6 separate regions of the Homo sapiens genome follow, and all the other regions are linked to region 4. Evidence: promoter capture Hi-C in 16 types of primary human blood cells and fetal thymus (Javierre and others, 2016). All regions are on one chromosome and are shown on one strand. The core of a region is centred on a gene start or on the middle of the fragment in contact, and the rest is flanking DNA. Distances in the headings are between cores, read along the strand shown.

Region 1 (2,700 bases), core at 76-2,575, 620 kb before region 4:
CCTACAAACCATGATATTCTGAAGGACCATGAAAATGTTTCAATTTTTTTAATCAAGAGCAATAAATGAACTTACAGGTCTAAAAATGTTTTATGATATCATTTTAATATAATCATCTTCATAGCAATGTGACTATAAAATGAAATTTTTATTAACTGTTTTATGGAGAGAAAGGCCTACTAAGGCAAAAATAGGGCCCCTGAAAGTCACCACGCAGCTCGGCCTTGTATTCCTTCTTTCCTGGGGCATCCTATCATAGAATTTAAGTATTGACAATAGGAACCCAAAGTCTGAGACAAGATGATCCTTTGAATCCCCAAGTAACTAGCCACTTACTTAAAGAACTCATGTGGATTGTATCAATGTTGTACCAGAGATATTATGCTTGAAAACAACAGTCCAGGAAGGTCAGGCTTGGCTCTACAAAAGTAGAAGGGGCAAAGTATGGTGAGGCATGCCTGTAGTTCCAGCTACTTGGGAGGCTGAGGCAGGAGGATCGCTTGAGGCCAGGAGTTCGAGACCAGCCTGGGCAACATACTGAAACATCATCTCTGAAAAAATAAAGAAAAGAAAAAAAAAAGCAGAAGGAAGGAAGGGAATTCTATGGGTAAAAAAAAAAAGCCTAAATTATCTAAAGCATTTTCTTCCAGTAAGAAGGTGATTAACATGAGCATGGTGTGCCAGGGTTTACAAAGTATTTTCATGAATATTAGAAAACTCGATCCTCATGAACAACTTGGTGTAGTACTGAAGAAACAGACTCCATTTACTCCATGAAGAATTAGACTCAGGGAAGGCAAACAGCCTTTTCCACAGTTCCCTACACTGTTACTACCTTGTGGAGGGAGGGGTAAGTTAACCAGGACCACTGACTCCAAAGCTTTTGCTTTTTGCTAGTGGCTGTAAGCACTAAAATTGGAAGTACATTTACATAAATAGTTTATGCAACCAAGCAAAATAGGCAGTGACTTGGGGGACACCCAGAGCGTAGTAGGAACAGAGTAGGTCCTTGCAGGTAGCTTTCTTCCCAGGTATACCACCAGACTGTCTGTGGTGCAGCTGGCTGGTTCCCCGCCAGCTTTCCCTCCTGACCTACGGTGTTTTAGGCAGAGGCTGGCTTTCTGGGGCAGCTGAGGAAATCTGTCCTTATCATCAACAAGGGATGCTTCTTCCTTGCAAGGACGAATTGTTCCTTGATCCAAGCAGCAGGGACACTTCCAGGCTTTCCAGGGGCACTGCTGCTTCCTCAACTTTTTCCTTGCAGTGACAGCCTGAGTGATCCGGGGCCCTTCCCAGGGTCTCATTCCAGGGATAGCAGTGCGCAAAAGGACCCTGTGATGAGGGACTCCTCTATCCCCTTCCTTCTCCACTTCATGGAAAGGAGGTCCCCAGGAGCCGACAAAATAGAGCAGTGGTCATCAAAAGTGGAGCTGCTTATATACAACTATAATTAGTCCACTTACAAAAAAGAAGAAAAAGGGTGGTGGTCTGGCACAGTGGCTTACGCTTGCGATCCTGGCATTTTGGGAGGCCGAGTAGGGAAGATCGCTTAAGGCTAGGAGTTCGAGACCGGCAACATAGAAAAACTCCCCCCCCCACCCCCCAAAAAAGGTTGGGCTGCCAATACTGACAGCGTGGGCACGCCTAGGAGCTTGTTAGAAATGCAGATTCTCGGGCTAACCTGCTACCTGCTGAACCAGAGTCTGCGAAGATGGAACCTGGCGATCTGCTTAAGAAGCTCGCCAGGCGGTTCTTAGACACTCAAGCTTGCAACCCGTAACTTTCTCAGTGACGCTGCCCCTCCCACGGAAAGGGGTGAATAATCCTTAGGAAGACAAGCAAACAGGTCTGCATCATCAATTTCTTCAGGCTGGAAAACCTGACGCAGGCGCAGTGACTATCACGCTTGGCCAAGGCCGCACGGCGCGCATGCGCACTAGAGGCCGCCCGCCGTCCCGCCCCCTTCAGGCTTTTGCCCCTTCTCGGCCTCCGCCACCGCTCCCCGCCCCGCGCATGAGCAGCGGCGGTTTTTTTTCCCATGGCGCTCTGGGGCGCGGGCGATTTGTAGGTAATGGCAGGCGTTCGGTCACTGAGGTGTAGCAGAGGATGCGCTGGCGGCTGTGAGTGCGGCGACAAGGGCAAATGCAGCGACTCCTCGCTGTTGGGCAAGAGACTCTCCGAAGACTCGAGCCGCCACCAGCTGTTGCAGAAGTGGGCGAGCATGTGGAGCTCCATGAGCGAAGACGCGTCGGTGGCCGACATGGAGAGGGCGCAGCTGGAGGAGGAGGCGGCGGCTGCGGAGGAGAGGCCGCTGGTGTTCCTGTGCTCCGGCTGCCGGCGGCCGCTGGGCGACTCGCTGAGCTGGGTGGCCAGCCAGGAGGACACCAACTGCATCCTGCTTCGCTGTCAGTTGGGTCGAGCCGGGCAGGGGGGGCGTGGGGTCGCCTTCTTCCAGGGGTGCCGCGCGTGGGCGGCCCGGGAGGAGGCGGGGGCTCCTTGGGGCTGCCCAGGGACTTTAAGAGCAAAAAGTCTGAGAGTGTGAGCTGTGGCAGGAAAAGGGGAGGAGGGTCACCCCTCCACTTTGGCTCTCGGGCGGTGGGTTCTTTTCTGGGGTCCCCGATCCCAGAAGAGCAGTGGTTGAATCAGCATCATCGTGAGCATTACTCAGAAACAAAGGGCGACAAAGAATAACACTTTTAA
Region 2 (2,744 bases), core at 115-2,614, 560 kb after region 4:
GTATACACGTGTCTAACTTATACACATATATAAATGCATATTTAAATAGAATCATATTGTACCTTATTGTACTATCTGCCTTCATTTATTATCCATCATGAGTAGTTCCCCTTATCATTAAGCATCTTCCTATAACATACTTTTTAATGGTTACAAAGATTCCCTTTGGGATGACACACCAAATGATAGAGTTTGGACGTGTGCCCCCTCCAAATCTCATGTTGAAATGTGATTCTCAGTACTGGAGGTGAGGCCTGGTGGGGGTGATTTGATCACGGGGGCAGGTCTCTCGTGAATGGCTTCGCACCATCCCCAGGTGATAAGTGAGTTCTTGCTCGGTGAGTTCACGTGAGACCTGGTTGTATAAAAGTCTGGAACCTCCCGGCAACCCTGGATCTTGCCATGTGACATCACCTTCTCTCCCTTCGCCATCTGCCATGATTAGAAGCTTCCTGAGGCCTCACCAGAGGCAGACGCTGGAGCCATGCTTGTACAACCTGCAGAACCATGAGCCAATTAAACCTCTTTTATTATAAATTACCAGCCTCAAGTATTCCTTTTCTTTTTCTTTTTTGTTTTTGTTTTTTGAGACAGAGTCTCACTCTGTCACCCAGGCTGGAGTGCAGTAGCATGATCTCGGCTCACTGCAACCTCTGCCTTCTGGGTTCAAGCGATTCTTCTGCCTCAGCCTGCCAAGTAGCTAGGACTATAGGTATGCGCCACATGCCCAGCTAATTTTTGTATTTTTAGTAGAGACAGGGTTTCACCATATTGGCCAGGCTGGTCTTGAACTCCTGACCTCGTGATCCGCCCACCTTGGCCTCCCAAAATGCTGGGATTACAGGTGTGGGCCACTGAGCCTGGCCAAGATATTCCTTTATAGCAATGCAAAAACAGACTAACACGCTATAGGTCCTCAAATACTTGCTAACAAAGGGAGGGTCTCAACTTGATATTTGATAATGTTGGATATTTAGATCATTTACATTTTAGCTATTGTAAATAAAACACTGTGATGTGAACGTTACCTTGAAAACAATGACACCCTTGTATAATTATATTATCAACAGTAAAATTAATCACACCTTTAAAATAATTCCACCTGGAGATTGCATTTGTATTATACACTTCAGAACATGTACCTATACATGTATCTGGTCCTCCCAAACCCTGTCAGATGAATTGGGCGGATAAGCTTATCTTTTCTCACCATCTTAGAGGTGAGGGAGGAAGGTGTGGCTCACACCACAAACAGCAGCTTTTGTGTTTCGTGTTCATGACCGGGATTAGACCGCACACAGAGGGAAAGACTGGAAGACCGTGCATTTCCAAGCCAGACAGTTTATCGATTAGCTATCATAACAGGACTGTATGCTAGAAATCCAAGGAGCAAGATGCCACTCTGCTTCTCGTAGTAAGGATAACAGAGCAAGCTCGCCACGCATCAAGGGCTTTTTGCCGACCCAGCTTTGAGGGTATGACGTGTACCCCCGTGCTCCCTGCTGGAGACCTGTAGGATCGTCTCAAGCTTTTTTGGCAATGTCCACAAAGGAGTTAAATCTGACTTAGCAACCAGGCTGTGAGTTTCCGGGGTCCAGGAGTGGGAGATGAGCAGGAACCCGTCCCAAGCAGGAATCTGTCCCAAGTTCATCTTTTAGCTAAAGGGAGGGCTGTGGCCCCTCACGCTGCTCTGGGTTGGGAGCGGAGCATCGGTGTATTTAAGAGCATCCAGGTGATTGTAATGTGCCAGTTGGATCTAATTTACCTTGAAAATTCGTGCATTTAACGAACAGGTTCTGGCAGTGAAGAGCCGGAGAATGATTTTTGTCTTGATAAAGAAATAAAGGGGATAAATAGAATGTTGGCTGCGGTTGCTGCTTATCGAACGTTTTTCCCAGATCTAAGGGTTTGCCCGAGTAGGAAGGATGCGGAAGGATGCGGAAGGATGGCGTTCCACCTTATTTCCACCTCCCTCACAGCATCCCGCCTGGTACCGTGCCTGGCTGGTTCGGGGCACTTTCAGCGCGGTCCTGTGCGAGGACGTTTCTCTGGTGCCCTCTCGCGGTGGATCAGCAAAGTGCCGCATTTTATTTAGAACCAGAATGGACGTAGAAGGACCCTTGGACGTCATATTTTGTAACCCTCTCATTTTACAGATGAGGAACCGAGGCCTAGAGCAGTGAAGCGGTTTGCCCAGGCTCACATGCCTAGTAATTAGGTTAAGTGGGGTTTGGCTGGGGACAGTGTTTAGGAATAGGAGAGGGTAACTCAGATCCCTGGAGTTCGATAGCCTGAACAAAGGCTTGGGAAATGAGAATCAGCTGGTGATGGATGGAATTAGAACAGATGCTGGGTGCCACACACAAGGCCACGGGTGATTGCTGCTGCCACCACTGGAGCCTCAGAACCTGAAAATTTACAAAGCCCCTCAAGGCCAATATGTCCCAAACTGAACTTATCATTTCCACCTTCACTTTATCTTCTTCCGTCATCTCAGTAAATGGCCTCACCTTCTCTCAGGTTGCTCAGGCTGGAAAACTAGTCATCTCTCTCTGTAGTCCACATCCAATCCATCACTGAGTCCTGCTTCCTGTAAAATTTAGGCCGGGTGCAGTAGCTCACGCCTGTAATCCCAGCAATTTGGGAGACTGAGGAGGGCGGATCACTTGAGGTCAGGAGTTCGAGACCAGCCTGGCCAACACGGCAAAACCCCATTTCTACTAAAATACAAAAATTAGCTAGGC
Region 3 (2,700 bases), core at 27-2,526, 940 kb before region 4:
TTGACTACAAATTTGGAGCTTCCCACAACGCCCCCACTGATGTGTGTCACCCGGCACATCAACGTCTTCACCAATCAGGAAGCTTCACTGAGCCATGATGTCTGGGATTTTTATAGCGTTTTTGTTCAGTAGGCATGATGGCTTAAACCACTGGCCACGTGTTTGATCCCAACCTCTAGCGCCTGGAGGTGGAGGAAGGGAGTGAGGCCGAAAGCTCCAACCCTCTAATTATGTGCTTGGTCTCCCAGGCACGGCCAGCCCCTTCCTTGAAACCCAGCGCGGACTACAGGTTACTGTATTAGCACAAGCTCAGGTATGGTGAGAAGGGGCTCGTTATAAATAACAAGACACTCCTGTCACTCAGGAAATTCCAAGAGTTTTGGAGCTCTGTGCCTGGAACTGAGTAGCAAAGACCAGATATATTTGTTATTTCATCACACCTTCCTCTGTACTCTTCAGAGCCTGCTACCTGGTCTCCCTCCAACTAGGTCTGTTCTTTTTTTTGAGGCAGAGTCTTATTCTGTTGCCCAAGCTGGAGTGCAGTGGCACGATTTTGGCTTACTCCAACCTCTGCCTCCCAGGCTCAAGCAATTGTCCTGCCTCAGCCTGCTGAGTAGCTGGGACTACAGGCACCTGCCACCACGCCCAGCTAATTTTTGTATTTTTAGTAGAGACAGGGCTTTGCCATGTTGGCCAGGCTGGTCTCGAACTGCTGACCTCAGGTGATTTGCCCACCTCGGCCTCCCAAAGTGCTGGGATTACATAAGGTGTGAGCCACCACATCTGGCCAACTAGGTCTGTTCTATATCAGCTACAAGATAAATCTCTCAACATTACCACTCCTTCCCAGAAAAGGCAGTCGCTTCCCGTGGCCTAACAGAGGAAAGGTGAACTCTTCAGCCTGGCTTTTGTGGCCATTCAAAAACAAACTTCAGCTGATCCAGCTAGAGCTGGCCTCATCTTCTCTCCTTCCTGCCCCATGCTGAGGGGGCTGGCGCCTGCTTTTCTTTGTTTCAGCTTGTCCTGAAGCACCTGCTGCCATCTGTACCTTTTCAGCCCATCTGCATTTCGAGGCCCACCTGCGGTGCCTGCTCCCCCTGCCGTATCTCCCGATCCTCACTGCCATCTGTGCTGCCAGCATTGGGCTCTTTCTCCTTTGAGAATTCTTTGCACTTCATTGTACTCCATGCTCAGTGCTGCTCACCGTCTGCTTTATAATACAGGCCACGGTGTGCTTCGCTCAGCCCCTGAAATAGATGGTAGTCACTCTGGGAGCAAGAACTGTTTGATTTCTTTTTGTTGCTCTGGCAGTATCTGGCAAGGGTCTTGTACAAGATCTTGATCGAATTTATGGAAGTGATTAGCCACACTGTAGATAACGATGGCTTTCTGCTTGCAGAAACAAGTGGAAGCCGGTGTCTGTGTTACCATGGAGATGGTGAAAGATGCCTTGGACCAGCTTCGAGGCGCGGTGATGATTGTTTACCCCATGGGGTTGCCACCGTATGATCCCATCCGCATGGAGTTTGAAAATAAGGAAGACTTGTCGGGAACACAGGTACGTAGTTTGTGAGTGGGTACTCTGGAGGTTGAGTTCCTGGCCCCCAAAGCCCTTAAGATTTGATGCCCCTCTTCTGGATGTAGTGTTTTGCTCCCTACACAGCTTTCAGGTTTGCTATGCCCTGCTTCAGAGCAGAGTTCTGAATTCAGGAGCAGCCCCTGAGAGTGGGTACTCATGAGTGAGGGGTTTGGCCCCACACACAGGAGGCAGTGGACGCAGTTTGTGAGGCCGCTCATCAGGAGTGACTGCAAACATTTCCACTGTCTTTGGCTGCTAGGAAGCCAGCTACCTAATTTCTTCCTATTTCTACCCAAATGCGTCAGTCCCTTTGCATGGAAATTTGTGTTTCTAGTCTTACCTGTTGCTTCATGTTATTTTCTGACCCTCATGTTCCATTTTCCTTGGGTTTTCTCACTTCTTATCCTATTGGACAATATTCTTTGTCTAAGCCATGTTAAATAAATGAAATATGCAGAAGTAAACAGGCAGCCCCTTTATACCTCGATTTAAACACCCAGCACGATGCCAGTGCCCTTCCCTGGCAGTGGCCTACAGATCTGTCTAAGACGAACTATATGGATCAAGGTGCAAATGAGATAGGATCTCCCTGTTGTCCAGAGGAGGAAGTTAACTGAGTCAGGGCATGAGTGGAAACTTAACAGGGAAGGTACTAAAGTCAGCAAGGACTTAGAGTGAGGTGCGGGAGTCAGGCCTCCCATGGTGAGCACGGGGAGAAATCTGTCCCCTGCCCCCTGCTGGGAGGGGCTCAGCTGGGCTCTGCCCCCTGGGTGGGAACACACAGTCAAGCCATTCTTACGACTGGCCCCAGGCAGGGCTCAACGTCATTAAAGAGGCAGAGGCGCAGCTGTGGTGGGCAGCCAAGGAGCTGAGAAGAACGAAGAAGCTTTCAGACTACGTGGGGAAGAATGAAAAAACCAAAATTATCGCCAAGATTCAGCAAGTAAGTACTTTTTGCTTTAATGTGTCAGTAGTTTTTGTTATTTCCCTTCAAACTGATAAAAATGTACAGTGAATCCGAAAGATTTAAACTACTGGTACAAATATTTTAATCTTATTGGCTCGGGTTTAAACTAAAAATATCCTCTTCCTGCACACCAACAAAAACTGGAAGAAAATAT
Region 4 (2,746 bases), core at 28-2,527:
TACAAGAGTCGTTCAGAAGTTTGTCTCTGACCATCTTAGCAACCTGCCTACTGGCAGAGCAATTTTAAAGCCACTTTACGAAAATGTGGCTTAAGAAATGCTCCGACAACAGTTATTAAGTGCCAATTCGGTGTAATGGAAACTCCAGGTCTTCTAATTTCCAAATACGAAACTCCACCCACTGTCCTCAAACGACAGTTCTCAATCGTAGGTGCACATCAAAATCACTTTTGGAAACTTTCAAAAAACAGCAATACTCACCCTGCACTAGGACAGGTTTTGATGTAATTGGTCGGAGGTTGGGCTCTGGTGTATTTTTAGTAAGATCTTCAAATAAGCTAACTGTGCACCCAAAGTTAAGATCACTGCCCTCAAAAATCCCCAAAAGGGTCAGTTAAACCTCTGGCTCCCGGAGCTTAGGAGGAGGAAAAGGACCTCTGTTCAAGGCTACCTTCTCTGCCCTTGCAGCCCAATCATGACCTAGAACAGAGGCCAGCAAACTTCCCTGCAAAGTGTCACACAAACGGTCTCTGTTGCGTATTTTTGTTTTCCAAAGCCTTTTAAAAATATAAAAACCATTCCTAGCCTTAGAGCTGTACAAAAGCGAAGACTCCCTGACCTAGAGCGCTGAAGCCGGAAAGCGGAGAGGGATGCGAAGACACCAGGCGGGCCCAGGCGCAGTCGCCATCCCCGGGCTGGGCCTGGCACTGCGCCACTCGGTGTCCGCGGGACCCTCAGGAACGAGAACACGGCCAAGCAAGGGACGAGCACAGCCGCTCCAGGCACCACGACAGACCCGCGGCGGCGGCCCAAGGACCACAGAGGGCAGCACGCCCGCCCCCGCCCCTCCCCGGCCCGCGGCAATCCCTCCCCGCGCTCCCGCCACGCGCAGGCCCAGCCCCGCGGCGGCCTCGGTCCCACGCCCCGCGCCCGGGCCCGCCCGGTGACTCAGCACTTGGGCACCGCACCGCTGGGGGCGAAGGCACCGACCGGGCGGCACGGGCCGGGACCGGGCGCTGGACCAGGGCGGCCCCGAGGCCTGGCGGGCGACCCGCTCCTAGCAAAGGTGCGCGGGGGGACGAGCGGGTGGGAGCGGCCTCGCAAACAAGCCTCCGTCCCAGCCCTTGCCTTCTGCTCGAAATTGATGATGCCCTGCACTGGGCCGTCGCCCTTCAGCACGCACACGGCCTTCGTCGCCATAACTCGCTAGGCCACGCCGAGGTCCTGGTTCCGAGGACTGCAACGGAAACCCCAGACGCTGCAGGAGACTACGACGCAAACCAGCACCCCGTCTCCGCGACTACTTTATAGGCCAGACCTCCGCGCCTCGCCCACTCTGGCCCCAAACCAATCGCCTCGCACGCGCTCAGCCCGCCCCCTGCGGCAGCCTCGGGTCGCGAGTGGCCGGGAATGACTGGGGGCGGGGCCAAGGGGCCGCGTGCGCCGGAGACTCCCCCCGCCCCGCAGCCGGGAAACGTCCAGAACCCCGAAATGTGGAGAAAACAACCTTCTTTTCACGGGGGCGTGGCCCGCCGGTTGCAGTACGCGAAATTGGCAAAATGATGTAAACAGGGTACGCTTTGAAAATCTGAAGTCACTTTGTCTAGAAATGTCATTAGTTATGACTGAGTTTGGCCACAGCGTCTCATTTGTTACTCAGCAATTGGGACGCCCCAAGATGGATGCTTTTGTAGTTTTCATTTTTTTGTCTTGTTTTTTAGTTTTCTGAGGGTATAGAAAGTCGCTACACCTCAATCCCGGGACTTACCTTTTCTTCCCCTGCAATTTTCTTAGTCCTTAGTATAGAGTTTCTTATTTGGTTGGCAGAATTCGGTATTCTTTTTATATTTTTCCTGTTTGGCAAGGCCACAACCCTACAGATAACCAAACGGCAACTAGTTGGCTTCTAGGCATCACCTGCGTTTTTGTCTGGCCTAAAGGCCACAACACTCAAGGAGGGTAGAATGGTGAAATAATTTATGATGCCTCCATACAACAGGAATGATAAATATGACTTACCTTTCAAGGGAAATATTTCAAAAACATATTGTGAAATGAGAAAATAGTGCAAACTACTTTTGTCCGGGGCGAGGGGGTTGTTTGTTTGATTTTTGAGACAGGGTCTCGCTCTGTCACCCAGGCTGGAGTGCAGTGGCGCCATCATAGCTCACTGCAGCCTCCACCTCCTGGGTTCAAGCCATCCTCCTGCCTCAGCCTCCCAAGTACCTGGGACCACAGGCATGTGCCACCACACCTGGCTGATTTTTGTATTTTGGGTACAGATGGGGTTTTACCATGTTGCCCAGGCTGGTTTCAAACTCCTGAGCTCAAGCCAGCCATCTACCCACCTCGGCCTCCCAAAGTGCTGGGATTACAGACATGAGCCACCACGTCCAGCCTAGTACTTAATATTGAGTATGGCAAAATACTGAGACTTAATTGAAGTCCAGTGTGAAACAACAATAGAAGCTATTCCAGCCTCGTTTGGAGTACACTACTATCGATTTATTTACTTATTTATTATTTACGCTATTTAGACCCTCAGACTCTAATGCATCCTCTATCAGAGAAATACAATTCACATTTTTTTATCATCCTCTAGGAAGTATACATATTTGCAGTTTTGCCTGTTGTATTTGGTAGTAGTCTCCAGATAATTCGTATATTCTAAACGGTTGCATAAACAGTGCAAATGCTGGCCAAAGGGCCTTTGCCCAAGGCTAAAGTTTCTTTGGGTTCCAGGAAG
Region 5 (2,700 bases), core at 180-2,679, 520 kb after region 4:
GAATAGGAACATTTATCAGTATCTGCTGGTAACAGCAGGTTTATTGTAAAATGGTAACATTCTAGGAACACAAGGTACCTGAATTGGGTCTTCAACCAACATTCCTTAAGATATCTCTGAAGGCAAATAGGTTCACAGAGAACAAAGCTGGCAAAGAAACAGCTTTTTGATGAAACTGGGCCTTCAACCTCCTACCCCCATGTTAAACTCTGGGGAGTTAGGCTAAGAAATCCCTTTTGCTTAACTAGGAGGAAGAAGAATGCAAGAGGGCATTTCCCCTTAAAAGAAGTCCTTAAAAATGCTGACTCAGTCGGGCATCCCAGTCCTTAGTAAGGTGGAGGCCTCCCAGCAGAACTCTTTCTTGGGGTTTGGGAGGAGGATTCAGAAGGGAACCAGTGGAAGCCCCAGAGAGAGGCTGTGGCCAGAGGGAGCACCCTGACCCCCTAGTCCACTTGCCCTGGGAAGCTTGTCCAGAGAAAAACCCTGTGCACAGGAACAGCATCAGCCCATTTTCAGTTGTGTAACAAATAACTGGAAATCTCAGTGGTTCTCTACAACAGATATTTATCTCGTATGTGGCTTTGTAGGTCAACCAAGGTTTGGTTTCTCTTGGTTAGCTCCAGTTCTGAAGGTTCTGGTGTGCTCCTTGTCTCTTCCTTCCAGGATCCAGGCTGAAGCAGCAATGGCTGTCTTGGGCAAGTCCTTCCCATGGCTGGAAGGTGGGCTCTAAGTCACATGCCTACACCCAAAGTCATCCGGGCGGCGATGTGTGTACCCTGCCTAGTCTAGTGGGAGGTGCTGGAAAATCACATGGCAGAAGGTGCAGATAATGTAATTCTGTTGGAAGAAGTAGAGTTTGGACAGTCTACCATGTTGGCCTTTAATCACTTTTAAAGACGTACTCCCAGGGGCTGTGGCCTCTGGGAATTTGTCTTTTGTATGTAACTCCTCCTCTTCTATGTGGGTCTTCGGGGGATAGGTAGTGGAGACTATGTCATTACCTTGGCTGATCATATCCTGGGGGTTTGGTTGATGAGTTACTTAATATCTATAGACAAAATAATATGGCTGCTTAAAAATTATTTTAACCCTTGATTGTACTAATGGTACTATAGCTTAGTAATAATGACAGTGATGATTATAATAATTTCAATCAAGGGAGGCAACAATACCTCTGTATCCTGTACTGCTGGAGCCACATCTCAGCACGGTAGCCTGTTTTGGTGGCTCGAGAAGGGCAATCCAAACTGCACTGTGTTCAGTGGCGGGTCGCCAGGTTGCTGCTGTATAGGAAACCCAGCTAGATTTGGAAGGAGGCCAGTGACTGCAGTGAGAAAAGCAGACGGGACTGTTGTGAGGCATAGACGTTGAACTTGCATCAGACTCTCTGGATCATCGTGTCTAGATGGCTCTGCAACCAGCACTTGTCTGTCGGAGACAGTTTAGCGTGTGACCGCTGGGGGTGAGCGACTAAACCTCATGGTCTCTTGGGATTCCAGCATTCACGCTGCCTGTGCCAATAGAGGAATCTTCAAACTCTTTATTGGCTTCTCTCTCCCTCATCTAAAGTGAAATAAAGTCGTCTTTGAAATGGATTGGAAGAAGAAATAATTTGCCTACATTTCCCAAAAGTGGATATTCACTGGTGGAAATGTCTGCAGTTATCTGGGGGTGGATCTTTGTCATGGACGGCCATTAGCATCTCCTTGGGAAACTGTCTCTGAACACAAAACATCTCCAGTTTTGTAGATCAGTTTTGACAGACTAACTGCATGTGAATTTCAGAGCCCCAGTTTGTACCTATTTGCCATCCTTTTCTGAAATTCTAGTAGACAAGCATGGAATAAATGGGGAAAAAAAAGATGAGCCTTTTCTCTCCCCTGTATTCCATGTGTTTCTTTGGGAATGGAGAGGATTTATTTTTCAATTAGGAGATTTCATATGAATTAAAGGATTTTTTTTTTCGTTAAAATTTCATTGTATTGTTCCTAGCTCAAACTTGGCTAGAACATAATGATACTATTATTTCCCATTGGAAAGGTTAACTGGATATTGTATCTTCAGCCTGTTTTGATGGGAGGTGGTGTTTATTGAGACAGTCACAAATCGAAAATATTTTTAAAAAATGTAGTCTGTCATTTTGGTGCGATTTCTTTTCTCAAAAACATGAAATTGACAAGTAAAAATTTTATATATTTATGGTGTACAACATGATGTTTTGATATGTTACATTGTGGAATGGCTAAATCCAGCAGTTTAACTTAGCATTATCTCACATATTTAAGCAAATGTTTTTAGGAGCAGTATTTTCTTGAAGTAAAATTAATATCAGCATGCTGAATTTTCAAACATCATGAAAATCTGAGTATTGATAACACCACCCAGTAAGCTTTGTCACGTCTCTGGCTTTCAGGTTGCAGATCTGAGCATGGGAGACCTGCTTTTGCACACTACCGTGATCTGGCTGAACCCGCCGGCCTCGCTGGGCAAGTGGAAAAAGGAACCAGAGTTGGCAGCATTCGGTGTGTATCAGAAAAGCGTTTTATGGAGGGGGAAAAGTCTAGCTTAGTTTTCAAAACAAGAACATTTCTTTTTCAAGACCCAATTGATTAAAAATAAAGTTAATTGCAGTTACTTGAATCGGTCTTCCTGCCGTAGCCACCAACATCTCACAAACACTAAATGAAACCTTCGAGTTAA
Region 6 (2,700 bases), core at 92-2,591, 540 kb after region 4:
CGAAACAGGTTTACCATTGATTCTGATGCCGTCTCCGCAAGCAGCCCGGAGAAAGAGTCCCAGCAGCCCCCCGGTGGTGGGGACACTGACCGATGGGTAGAGGAGCAGTTTGATCTTGCTCAGTATGAGGAGCAAGATGACATCAAGGAGACAGACATCCTCAGTGACGATGATGAGTTCTGTGAGTCCGTGAAGGGTGCCTCAGTGGACAGAGACCTGCAGGAGCGGCTTCAGGCCACCTCCATCAGTCAGCGGGAAAGAGGCCGGAAAACCCTGGATAGTCACGCGTCCCGCATGGCACAGCTCAAGAAGCAAGCTGCCCTGTCGGGGATCAATGGAGGCCTGGAGAGCGCAAGCGAGGAAGTCATTTGGGTTAGGCGTGAAGACTTTGCCCCCTCCAGGAAACTGAACACTGAGATCTGACTGCGTCACCTGCCCCGTAGAGAATGTGTGTAGATACTTCCTGCCCTAACTCTGCCCACCCTCCTGTACCGTCGACAAGAATGTCCCCTTAGGTCGCGCTCTTGCACACACGGTTTTGGCAGCTGACTTGGTTCTGAAGCCATGTAGCCACCCAACTTTGTCATTTTCAACAACATCAGAAAGAATTGATCAGAATCCCAAATAAGCTTGAGTCCTATCTTCTGTATATTACTAAGGGCTTTTATTTATTCTCAATAAATCAGGGCCTGAACAATTAAAAGAAAAAAGATTCTATAGCACTGGAAAGCAAATCACCCCAGGAGTTAACGGATGTACAACAGATTAATTTAAGGGATAGTAGCACACACACGATCCTTCTATCTGAAATCAGTCTCCTAGCTGGGGAAACCTCTTTCACACACAAAATGAAATGTGTACAGCTTGCCGTGTTCTGACTGTACCCTTCCCTCTTCCATGTCTGAGAATCTCCGTGTATTTTAAGAATGTGTGAGGAGAGGGTGGCGATTCATGTTTCAATGAGCCTCTTTTTTTTTTTCCTTCCTGTTTTGGTCTATGGCTGGTCTTACTCTGTGTCCATGTTCGGAAGCTCTAGTTTTGCATAGAATTATAGAGATGCCAAACTCTTTGAAAAGAGATCCAAATTTATCGCTTGAGAGAAAGAAAAGAAACACTATTTTTTGTATTTTACCTGAGATACAGGGGCACAAATAGATGAGAATTTTACAGTGTTAGTGTATGTATCCCTGAGCCTAAAAAATGAGGATATAACCTTTTACAGAGAGAGTGAGGCGTGGTGGTTTTATATTTATATATGAAAGGCCAGCAAGCTCATGCGAAGGATATACTTTTCTTCCAAAAAGCGGATTTTTTTTTTTTAATGTTTGAATCTATATTTGAGATGGGAGTTTGGTTGGATTAAACATGACACCCCGGTGGGCGGTGTGTGTGTCTGTTGCACATGGCAGGGAGGGGAGCCTCCTTCTCATGGGGTTGCCATGGTGATCATTGGTTTTTCCATCAAAATTGCATCTTCATCCATAGATTACCTTCCCCTTCCCTGACAGTCCATAACCAAACCTTTAAACAGAACAACCTCTTTAAAAACTTCTCTTGTGTTTAACACTTTCTTCATGCCAACGAAACAGGGTAAACATGCTCAAAACATTAACAGTCTAAACAGATATCCAAATACTAAGAAGAAAAACAAGTTATAGCACTTTCAATTTTTTTTTTTTTTTTAAAAAAAGGTTTATAGCTTTTTCTTTTCCCATGTCACAATGTCCACTTCCTAAGAAGGGTTTAAAATACTATGAAAACTTTCTTTTTGGGGAAAATATCTATTTGGTGTTTGACACATCAGTAGGTACTTTAAAGACCTGAATTTTATAGTAGCTTTAGGAGTTATATTTTATAAAAATCAGTTATGACTTTATATTTCCAGACAATAGAGAGTTCAGTACATCATGCTCTTGTGCCTCTGCCTGCTTTTCCTGCGTTCCCACCCTGTATTCCCCCCGCCTTTCGGGTTTCCAGGGCTTCGAGCTTGATCTTTTGAAAGTTTTATTCTATTAAATTTTTGCTATATCTTCTGGTTTTCTGAAAAAGCTTTAGAATGGTTTCTATACCCTTTGTATCACTGCATTTTTCCATATCATCTCCGGTTCGATCGCGTCCAGATGGAAAACGGAAGCAGAGGCTTCTAATCGTCGCATTTACTGGCTCCAGTGCAACACATCCATCTGAAAACACTCGGAAGTCTGGTGCTTGGAGAGGGTGCCATTGTCTCTTGTACATAAGGTCATGACGTGTCTATGTCAAAAGTTCTTATATATTTCTTTTATAAGCTGAAAGAAGGTCTATTTTTATGTTTTTAGGTCTATGAATGGAACGTTGTAAATGCTTGTCAAACAATAAAAATAACGAAAAGTGTCTGGGCGGTTCTATGCCTTTTTGGATGGGAGGATGAGTATGAATTGTTGGCGGGAGAGCGGCCGTGGGAGAAGATTCCTGGGAATGCCATTTATTGAAATAACTCGTGATCATCAGGAGAACGCTGTTGTAGCGCTTGAAGTTTTAACAACAACAAAAGGTGCATTACAGTTGCATGGCATCTTGACCTAACGTTGCCCCTACTGGGCACTGTTTCTTTTCCAGTCTCCTGCCTATCCCGATGGGAGCAGGCTGGGGGGGTTCCTGTGAAAATATTGGGGTGAAGTGCAGAGCTCTGACTGGCCTGACTGAGCTCTTGAATCACTC

What was found. The method cuts DNA at HindIII sites, captures the fragments that hold promoters and counts their contacts. A CHiCAGO score of 5 or more calls a contact.
Region 1: a contact is called between a fragment that was not itself captured here and the fragment with the promoter of SOD1 in region 4, in 4 of 17 cell types (M0 macrophages, total B cells, naive B cells and 1 more). The highest score is 5.8, in M0 macrophages.
Region 2: a contact is called between a fragment that was not itself captured here and the fragment with the promoter of SOD1 in region 4, in 6 of 17 cell types (fetal thymus, activated CD4 T cells, non-activated CD4 T cells and 3 more). The highest score is 10.6, in fetal thymus.
Region 3: a fragment that was not itself captured here is called in contact with the fragment with the promoter of SOD1 in region 4 in 1 of 17 cell types (total B cells); the score reaches 5.4 in total B cells.
Region 5: a fragment that was not itself captured here is called in contact with the fragment with the promoter of SOD1 in region 4 in 5 of 17 cell types (activated CD4 T cells, total CD4 T cells, naive CD4 T cells and 2 more); the score reaches 11.1 in activated CD4 T cells.
Region 6: a fragment that was not itself captured here is called in contact with the fragment with the promoter of SOD1 in region 4 in 10 of 17 cell types (activated CD4 T cells, non-activated CD4 T cells, naive CD4 T cells and 7 more); the score reaches 10.8 in activated CD4 T cells.

The regions. Positions count from the first base shown.
Region 1 is chr21:32,278,386-32,281,085 of GRCh38, reverse strand. It overlaps MIS18A (MIS18 kinetochore protein A), which reads left to right and starts at 2,037. Exons shown (of 5, transcript NM_018944.3): 1 at 2,037-2,405. The coding sequence starts at 2,072. It overlaps MIS18A-AS1 (MIS18A antisense RNA 1), which reads right to left and starts at 1,881. Exons shown (of 1, transcript NR_046576.1): 1 at 87-1,881. RefSeq lists enhancers at 1,624-1,843, 1,787-2,286, 2,287-2,700. The HindIII fragment of the contact is 886 bases long and covers 883-1,768 here.
Region 2 is chr21:31,098,045-31,100,788 of GRCh38, reverse strand. No RefSeq gene overlaps it. Among named protein-coding and RNA genes, the nearest start is that of KRTAP19-8, 61 kb to the right of the region's middle. The HindIII fragment of the contact is 333 bases long and covers 1,198-1,530 here.
Region 3 is chr21:32,602,983-32,605,682 of GRCh38, reverse strand. It overlaps CFAP298-TCP10L (CFAP298-TCP10L readthrough), which reads left to right. Exons shown (of 12, transcript NR_146639.2): 4 at 1,400-1,558; 5 at 2,391-2,522. CFAP298 (cilia and flagella associated protein 298) reads left to right here. Exons shown (of 7, transcript NM_021254.4): 4 at 1,400-1,558; 5 at 2,391-2,522. Among named protein-coding and RNA genes, the nearest start is that of CFAP298, 8.0 kb to the left of the region's middle. RefSeq lists a silencer at 910-1,204. The HindIII fragment of the contact is 2,383 bases long and covers 85-2,467 here.
Region 4 is chr21:31,658,224-31,660,969 of GRCh38, reverse strand. It overlaps SOD1 (superoxide dismutase 1), which reads right to left and starts at 1,277. Exons shown (of 5, transcript NM_000454.5): 1 at 1,129-1,277. The coding sequence starts at 1,200. It overlaps SOD1-DT (SOD1 divergent transcript), which reads left to right and starts at 946. Exons shown (of 3, transcript NR_187558.1): 1 at 946-1,573. RefSeq lists an enhancer at 435-634 and silencers at 795-1,074, 1,345-1,664. The HindIII fragment of the contact is 11,893 bases long and covers 1-2,746 here.
Region 5 is chr21:31,135,755-31,138,454 of GRCh38, reverse strand. TIAM1 (TIAM Rac1 associated GEF 1) reads left to right here. Exons shown (of 28, transcript NM_001353694.2): 23 at 2,414-2,522. Among named protein-coding and RNA genes, the nearest start is that of KRTAP19-8, 99 kb to the right of the region's middle. RefSeq lists an enhancer at 1,339-1,388. The HindIII fragment of the contact is 1,924 bases long and covers 468-2,391 here.
Region 6 is chr21:31,118,091-31,120,790 of GRCh38, reverse strand. TIAM1 (TIAM Rac1 associated GEF 1) reads left to right here. Exons shown (of 28, transcript NM_001353694.2): 28 at 1-2,373. The coding sequence ends at 423. Among named protein-coding and RNA genes, the nearest start is that of KRTAP19-8, 81 kb to the right of the region's middle. The HindIII fragment of the contact is 1,420 bases long and covers 632-2,051 here.